Regions from separate parts of the Homo sapiens genome. Here region 1 is linked to region 2. The links are contacts of gene promoters, found by promoter capture Hi-C in human tissues and cell types (Jung and others, 2019). All regions are on one chromosome and are shown on one strand. The core of a region is centred on a gene start or on the middle of the fragment in contact, and the rest is flanking DNA. Distances in the headings are between cores, read along the strand shown. Region 1 overlaps NLGN1 (neuroligin 1). Region 2 holds the start of NLGN1 (neuroligin 1).

Region 1 (4,524 bases), core at 101-2,600, 38 kb after region 2:
GAATAGCTGCCAAATAATGGTTGTTGTTGGAAACTCCTAAGTGTAGCACATGCTTTAGAGGAAATTTTTTGGTCATTTGGTCTAATGTAAAACTTAAAAGGTGGCCTGAAATTCACCCACCATTTGAAAATACGTAGTTGCTCAGTTCCGTGTCACTAATTCTCTGCTTTCTCTTTGCTTTCTGACACTTCTGAGGAGCAGACCTGTGAAGCTTGAGGCCACTCAAGTTCCAAATTTGTGACAAATCCCCCAGGGCTCACTGGAGTGGCAGTAAGTTCTCGCAGTTTGATTTCCTTTCAATCACTGAAGTGTTAGAAAAGTAGTAACAAAAGCTCCCACGGCAAAACAGCAATTCTGTTTCCTGACCATCCACCATAGTCATGACTTACCTCTTTTGTTCCATTGATTTTTCTGTTGAACAATTTTAATACTTTTAGCCATACAATATGCAGTATAGTTTTGACAAGCTGGCATAATCCTTTAACCATGCTTTGAGTGTACACTTTTTCTCCTTCTACCCCCATAACCTGCCATAGAAAAACTGATTTTATTTTTGAAAATTTCTTTCCCTTTTTCAGCTATTATTTTCACTTAAATATATAATGTTTTTATGTTACAAAGTTTGATTCTCTTTTGATGATATATACATACACACACATATATGAAAATCTTATGTTCACGGAAGCGTTATGTTGTGATATTTATAATCACTTCAATAAAGTCATTTTTAGAAAAAAAAATGTAGGCTGGGTGCGGTGGCACACGCCTGTAATCCCAGCACTTTGGGAGACTGAGGTGGGGGCATATCACGAGGTCAGGAGATCAAGACCATCCTAGCCAACATGGTGAAACCTTATCTCTACTAAAAATACAAAAATTAGCCAGGCGTGGCAGTGCACGCCTGTAGTCCCAGCTACTAAGGAGGCTGAGGCGGGAGAATTGCTTGAACCTGGGAGGCAGAGGCTGCAGTGAGCTGAGATCATGCCACTGCACTCCATCCTGGGCAACAGAGCAAGACTCCCTTTAAAGAAAAAAAATAAGAAAGAAAACTTTAGTAAAAGTCTATACGATGCATTTAGTCAACAAGGAAGGCTGACATCATTTTTAATGAGAGAAGAATATTTTAAAGAAGAAATAATGGCTTTTGGGTCAGAAAGAACCACTGATATCAAACTGACTCTCTGTTCTTTGTAACTAAACCCCAAACCAAACTGATTAACCTACAGCCGCAAGAACAAAATCAAACAACACATGATGTATGTTATTAGAGCATGTCTATAACTCGCTTTTTACATCAATTTACCAAACACTGAGTGAACCCAGCACTTGTTGAGAAGAAAAGACAGAAATGATTATTTAGCCTTTGCTAAGAAATTAAGAAATCAGTTTTAAATGACCAGCATTAAAAGCAAAACAATTTTTCATTGTCACCATCCAAATATGCTAAGAAGGAAACATCTAGAATATATTTCCCAATATTAAAATTATTTCAGAGTAGTTATAAACAAACGGAAGACTGCTCCACCTCACACAATTTTGTTTATTCTGGTTAGTGGCTCCCATTCTTTGGCAAATAATGTATGGCACACACATGAGTTCTGGAACATGTTTTAATAACTCTTAATTTCCTACCACTCATGACCCATCTGTCATGATTTGAGGACCTTACATTAGGGAAGTCAAATAGGGAAGACTGTGTGTTTGTGACCAAGAGCATTAATTTTAGGCGTGGTTTAACTATGTGTCCCATTAATTCCATATCTACAGGTTTTTATCTGTAACTCAACCCAGCCAGATCCATGTTCTCCTCTTCTTTGTCTTGTTGTATGCCTTGAGAAGCTAACCTTGACTTCTATAAGTTACATCCACCCAGGCCCCCTTGATAGTTGGCTTCTTTTAAAAATCCAACAAATGCAAGACAATGGTAGGAGAACAGAGTGTAAGAGAGAGAGTTTGGGTTAAAACCCCATCCCCGCCATTCTTTCCTGCTCTAAGCCATGATTTCTAGCAGTTACTACATCTTTTTATCACTATGACCCAGGTTGGGTGGCCTTTTTCTATGCCTCCAGCTCTAACTGTACTCCAGTAACACTATTTTTCTCTTGCCCTTAGGCCAGTCATAACCTCTTTCTATTGTCATTCCCTTGGTGCTGCAATGTTCCTTTTTATTTTTCTTCACCCTGTCCAGATCTAAAGTCATCCTTATTAAAACTTCTTGAAGTAGATTCTGATTCCTGCATGACTGACTCAGACATTAGCAATAAGAAGCACTACATAAAACATTTGACTGTCAAGATTCCATTTTTGGATGTAGAAATAAGATGAGAAACCTGAGGAAAATTCCCAAGTCGTGATCTGTTTAGAAAGTACCTATACTTGGAATAATTTGACTGTTGCTTCCTCCTGCTCTTTATCCCCTGGTTTCTTAATTATCACAGCTAGATGTTCAGCTGTTGGTATTGTCTGTCACTGCCAATACCACATGTGTCTATTGTGGCCATAACTACTGCTTTCTGAGAGGACTTGGTCATCTACTGTAAAGACCTGATTACTCACTGTGACCAGAAGCCCTTTAAGATTGAATGAAGGAAGATGAGGCTTTTTCAGCTACATTATTAAAAGACAGTTGCAGCTGCAATAAAACATGCATTGGAATTTATTCAGCACTCCTGTGTGCAGCCCCTTGCTCCTCCTGCTTTTGAACGTTGATGGATATGACATTGTGTCTAATCTCAGTTGTATTCTATGGTACTTGTCTTGGAGCTGGTTCTCTGACTTGACTCTTCATTTAGCTTAGTGGACTTGATTTCCTCTCATTTGACTACCAACTTTTGATTTTCTTTAAATCTTGCCTCCAGACTACAAACATGCCAAGTATCGTGCATCGTGTGTTGTTTCTTTCATTGCCGTTCCTGCCACCATCACTCTTGGCTTTGCCTCTGCTGCTGCCATTACTTTCACCACCCCCACCCACCAACACACACACACACAGATATGCACACACACACACGTGCTGTATTGTGTTACAGACAAAGGTCTGCTATCTTTGCCTTCCTGATCCTGCCTTCCCTACTATCAGTCACCCTTTAACCACTGCCACCATCCCCTCTACCATCAAACTAGCAATTTACTGGTCTTTTTCTTTCATTTCAGCCCTTAGACTGAGTTTCCAAGTATCCAAGTCCCCAATGATTATAAAATTTGTTACTTTGGATTTTTTTTTAACATTGCAGATTTATTATCAAGGGAAGTGAGTCCTGAAGGATTCATTCATTTGGGGTTTATAGCAGATAGACATGAATATATTTCTCTCTTAAAAAAACAGAAATAAGCCTTTGATGGTTTGGTTATTTTGACATAACTTTCACTTTAATGGTGGTTTTTTCCCCCTTTGGACTGTATTTCCAAATCAAAACCCTTTTAATTTGATGATGGAGAAAATCTTATATCCTAGATGCATAAATGTTTTGTGTTGTAAAGTTTCTATATCAGAAACCCAATTTCCTGGTTAAGATAGGAATATAGTTTTAAAAAGGTGAAAAAAAATGAGCCTTATACATATCGTCTTTCCTATTAAAAGTATACAAGGAAAAAAATGGCAGAAATGAAGGAAATAACTAAGTTAAAGAGACATGCCAACTTGATCCAGAATTTCTTCCCTGGATCCTGGGCTCACAGATCCAATATGCAGTCTTTTTTAAACAGTATGCAATATAGTGCTCTTATTTTTAAAAATAATATGATTCTAATATTGATACCTGTTATAATTATGAATCACTGATAAAAAGTTTTAATTTTTCACTTTTATTTTCAAAGTTTAGAGCTGAAATTATTAAGAAAATATAGAAAAACTGCGGAAGATTTAGGGATCATTAATAGTCTCTCACACGTTTCAAAATGGGATTCTAAAGAAAGATTAAAGGAATTAGAAATATTCAGTAGACAGAAAAGATAAAGATACAGTTGCCTTCAGGGAGTTAATGGGTACTGGATGTTCCTTTTTCTTCCTTGAATGTAAGAAGAGGGAACAGTGTTATATGTTAGCAAGAAAAGTAAAAACCATAGTTATCGTGTGGACATTTTCAGGATTATCTCTTCTGAAGTTCCTTAAAGATAGACTTATCTGGGAAATATTTCAGTATTTTCCAAATTCAATTCAGTAGAGACACAATTTATCAGAGATACTCACTTTCTAAGATTTCCTTGGTCAAAACAGCTTGACAAATATCTCATATTAAATTCCTCTCTTGGATATTAGCAATCTGGATTAGCATATTTAAGAAAAATTTCTGGAAAGAAAAGAGCTGTTGAAGTCTGTTTAATGCTTAGGCAACAAAGTTTGTTTGCACAAGGGAAGAATTTTTTCCCCCATAGCACATATCACATTCTTTAGTTTCCTCTTAACACCTGTTCAAGAAGCACTGGTTTAAAGCCTGGAGAATGAATTTCTAAACCTGTTGAGGCTCATTGTTGAGTTTTAGTATTATATTAACAAATGGTTATAAACTTGTGAAATTTAATCCA
Region 2 (4,139 bases), core at 12-2,511:
AGGGCCTGGTTTTCGTCTCTCCTCCCCACGAAACGGAATGTTTTGGAGCCGATGGATAACAAGAACACTATTAACATTCTTTTGAGCCTGTTTTTTAAAAGGGGGAGGGAGCGTGAAGAATTGTTTAACATTTGGCCATCGTTTGGCTGCACACTAAGCACCACGAAGTATTTATGGTTGCAGATCAGGTGCAAACGGGGCTTAGAGAGAAAGGTAAGGGAGCTTCCTGCGTCCGCCGAGCTCCGGCGTTTACCTTAATCCCGGGGATTGCCGAGAACTTCCTATTCCCTGCCTCTCCTTCGCCTTCCCCACCTTCCACCCACCCTTCTCTGCTCTCTCTCTTCTGTAAACTCAACCCTTTTCCAATCCCATTGGGGTGGGGGTGGGGGGTGCTGGAGGTATAATCGTCTATTTGAGTTTAAATGCGTCTCTCTTTCCCAGGCTAGTAGCTGAGTTTTCCAATAGCCTTTCTGGCGGTTTTAGGAAATCGTGTCCTTTATAAAAAATAATGCTACCTAAATAAGTGTTTTAAACATCTGAAGATGCCAGTCCCTCACCCTATCCTCTGATGAAAATAAAAGCAATAAAAAATAATGAACTTTAATAAACTGGGTGGTTTTTTTTAAGCGTTGGGGTTCATGGAAGCTCCCAAACGCTTTTTTTCATTTAAAAAGAAAGATAACCAGCAAACAAACCAATCTCAGGAGGAGTCCACAGTGGAGGAGATTCGCCTTCCGTTTCTGCATAAAACCAATACATTTTACTTGGAGGGTAATTTGCCAGAGTTGAGCGAGACGAAGCCGTGTCTAAATAAGTACATGACACTAAATTTCCTTTTAAATCCACCTTTTACACCATGGCCAGTCGCTTGTTTAACTCCCGTTCAAGGGACACGGTTTTCAAACGTGACCTTTTGGGGAGATGTGGGAACTTCCCCTCATTTCTTCTTCTGTGCCGCTAACCTCTTTCCTCCTCCGCGCGGCATCTCCAGCCCCGGCAGTTTGTAAATTGCCCGTTTTGCCCACCCTCCTGGTGGGCGTTCTCTCCCCCACTCCACTCCTGCCCCCTCTGTCCTTTCTTCATTGGCGTCTTCGGAGCAGATGCATCTTCTTTCTTCTTGGCCTCACTCTCCCGTTCCCCCGTCAGTCCCCCCACCCGCGGCTCCCCACTTGCCCCAGCTCTCCTCGCCGCTCCTCCCCGCCTCCCCGCGGAGGGTTGACCCTTCAATTCGGAGTCCCGGCCTGTGGGCGGGCGGGGGAGCGCCGCGGCTGTAAGCCGAGGATCAGGCGGCGGCGCGGAGAGCGCGCCCGGGCGGCCAGCGCCGAGCGCGCGGAGCTGGCGTGGGGAGACACGGCAGGAAAGGCGAGTCGGAGTGGGTGATGAGAGGCCGGGAGAGCCCGTCCGAGCCGGAGAGACCGGAGAGAAGGGAGCGAGCGACTGTGCGGCGCTCACGCTGCCAGAGCCCGGGCGGAGTGCAGTCGCCTCCAAAGCCTTAGAGCGGCGCCCCAGTCACTGCAGCTCTTCACCCTAGAGCTGTGCCCTGGGACCACAGAGACCAAGAGCATGGAAATCGGCTGAGAGGTACAAAAGAAATAAGGAACAGATTACGAGAAAGCGGGGAGGGTTTCCTGGCGAAATACGGAGGCTGAGCAGATGGAGGAACAATGCCGCCTCCAGAAGAAAACCCTTGCCTGAACCCTCGGCGGAGCGCAGAGGAGCTGCTTTCAGCCTTCTGCTCTCCCCAGGCCCTCCGGCTAGTTCTGGGGTTGGTTCCGCCGGTTAGTTTGACAGGGATAAGAAAGTTGCTCTTCTTCCCCACAACGTTTCCTGAGAGGTGGTTTTCAGATCTGTGTGTTTCCAGTCAAGATGTCACTCCCTAGATCCCCCGCGTTGAGCAACTAATATATTATGCATTATTGGGCAATAAACTCTCCTGGGAAGAGAAGGTATTCCAAACATTTAAACCGTTCTCCACCGACTCCTGCCCGCCTCAACACAATGCCTTGTGAGTAGAAATGAAAAACCACCTGAATTTAAAATTATTTAGGTTGAGATTTTGCATTGGGAATAATTTCTTCCAGAGGAGGTTGTTAGTGTGTTATAGAGATGAGGGATATTACATGTCCAATATTTGATTCATTTGTGATAATTCTAAATCATGAACAGTTGGCCTCCACAAAGGTACTATTTCTTTTTGCATTTCCAGGGCCATAGTGATACATATAACACTTGGGAAACGTGAATTCGTATAGTTAACCCAGTATCTGTTACTCTGCATTTTTACAGGTAGTTAATATACTCATTTTCCCTCTTTTTATACTCAAACTCCGGTAGACTATTTTTGCTTAAGTCAATTGAGTTGTCATGCTGTACATGAAAATTACAGGGTCTTAATGCATTTCTCACCATTAATTGTGCTCAATTATTAATAGGATCATAGATATTAAAATGTCACTGAGAAAGGGTATGTGTACCTATGTTTGAGTGTAAAACCTATAAAATGTCTCAGCATTTCTATCAGCCATTGTAACCTAGCAGAACACAAGGTTTTTGAAATGAGCTCAGAAGCAAGGGCCATTCATATATTTAAAATATTAAATGTTAAATGCAAAAACATTAAATTTACTGTGCCTTTGGCAGAGAATGAATCTAAGTCTACTTGCACTGCAGAGTGATTGAGTGATTCACAGAGAAAGTGGAAGTTAATCATTACTCAGGCCTTCTGATTACATGGTTTGATTAAAAGAAGTAACTGTTTTCTGTAAGCCTGCTATTCTGCAGTTAGTCTTCCCAATCCTCTTAACATAAGCAGAAATTGAGGGAGTCAATCTTTCAGCAGATTCTACTAGAGTTCCAGTAGTGTGGAGTAAGAAAAGCTTCTTTAGTTCCCGTCCTTCCCATTGTCTCCCTTCTTCCACCCCCAAAGTACTTGCTGTCAATCTTTTCTTTATTCCCTCAGTATAGTTTTATTTTGTGAAATTTTCCACTTACATTTAGTAATAACATATTTTCAAATGTAAATGTTTGAATGGCTTTGAAGTTGAAGGTGAAATATACACTTAAAGAAGGTAGGCTGAGAACTCCATTGGTTTCATTTGCAGGGTGTTGGAAGGCCTGATGACCCTATGCATTCCTGGATGACTTTCTTGGATCACTCTCCAAAGTCTCTTCCAACTCTGAAATTCTTATATTTTATTCTGCTTTTACTATTTTCACATGGTTATCCAGTGCCAAGATCTACATATCCCTTCAAATTACATTAAACTAGCTGTTTCTGGTTTTCTTTATAGGATAATTAAGTAGCTAGAACTATAAAATACAGTTATAAATCTGAGATCTGAGTTTTTTATAAAATTTTTCACATACATTTTAATGCTATTGACAACTTTTTGTGAGACAATATTAATACAGATATAGCTTTGAGTGACGTATCTCTCTGGGTTTTCATGTATTGAAACAGTTTTTAACATAGTAATGGTTTATCTTGATAATTCTTTATTATTTTTACACAAAGGAGTTATTTCACAAATTACCTAACAAATACTAATTTGTAGTTTTTGTAAGCAAAACACAGTTAAAAGTAACAGTAGTATTAGAAACTGCAGCTGTGTAACATATACCTTTGCCACATTTTAAAGGCTTAGTTTTTGAAGTGAAGTTTGCAGTCGGTTTCCATCTTACTGGATTGTCAATAGGAAGATATGATTTTTCAGTTATGTTTTAATTATCTGTAAATGAAATCACCAAAGTCCAGTCTTCTAGACTTAATATTATTATTATTATTTCTGAAATATAGGTATGATCTTATTAACATTGGCCAGTGGCTCCTTATAGATTATTACATGCCAAAGTCCACAACCCTAATGCCACTCAATGCTTTTCACAATTCATTCTTAAACCTCCTTATGTAGATTAAAACACTGTCCTCCTGGCCCCCCTTCTGAATTCACTCTTTAGTCCATTCACAAGACTCTTAATTACTATTTTCCCCAACACTACATACCATTTTAGGATTTTGTGGTTTGCTTATGCTAATCTTTCTTCATTGATCCATTCCCTGCCCCTCTACCCCACCCCACCAAATATACACCAATGATAGGACAGAAAAACATTTTAGTTCCTTGGGTGGTCTTTCCTTC

The links. Contacts are between HindIII fragments. The study calls those that stand out against the background at their distance.
Region 1: a contact is called between a fragment that was not itself captured here and the fragment with the promoter of NLGN1 in region 2, in 4 of the 25 tissues and cell types used here (H1 embryonic stem cells, adrenal gland, hippocampus and 1 more).

The regions. Positions count from the first base shown.
Region 1 is chr3:173,434,809-173,439,332 of GRCh38, forward strand. All of the region lies in intron 1 of NLGN1 (neuroligin 1), which reads left to right. Among named protein-coding and RNA genes, the nearest start is that of NLGN1, 39 kb to the left of the region's middle. The HindIII fragment of the contact is 8,103 bases long and covers 1-4,524 here.
Region 2 is chr3:173,396,483-173,400,621 of GRCh38, forward strand. NLGN1 (neuroligin 1) reads left to right here and starts at 1,262. Exons shown (of 7, transcript NM_001365925.2): 1 at 1,262-1,581. RefSeq lists an enhancer at 1-30. The HindIII fragment of the contact is 5,603 bases long and covers 1-3,650 here.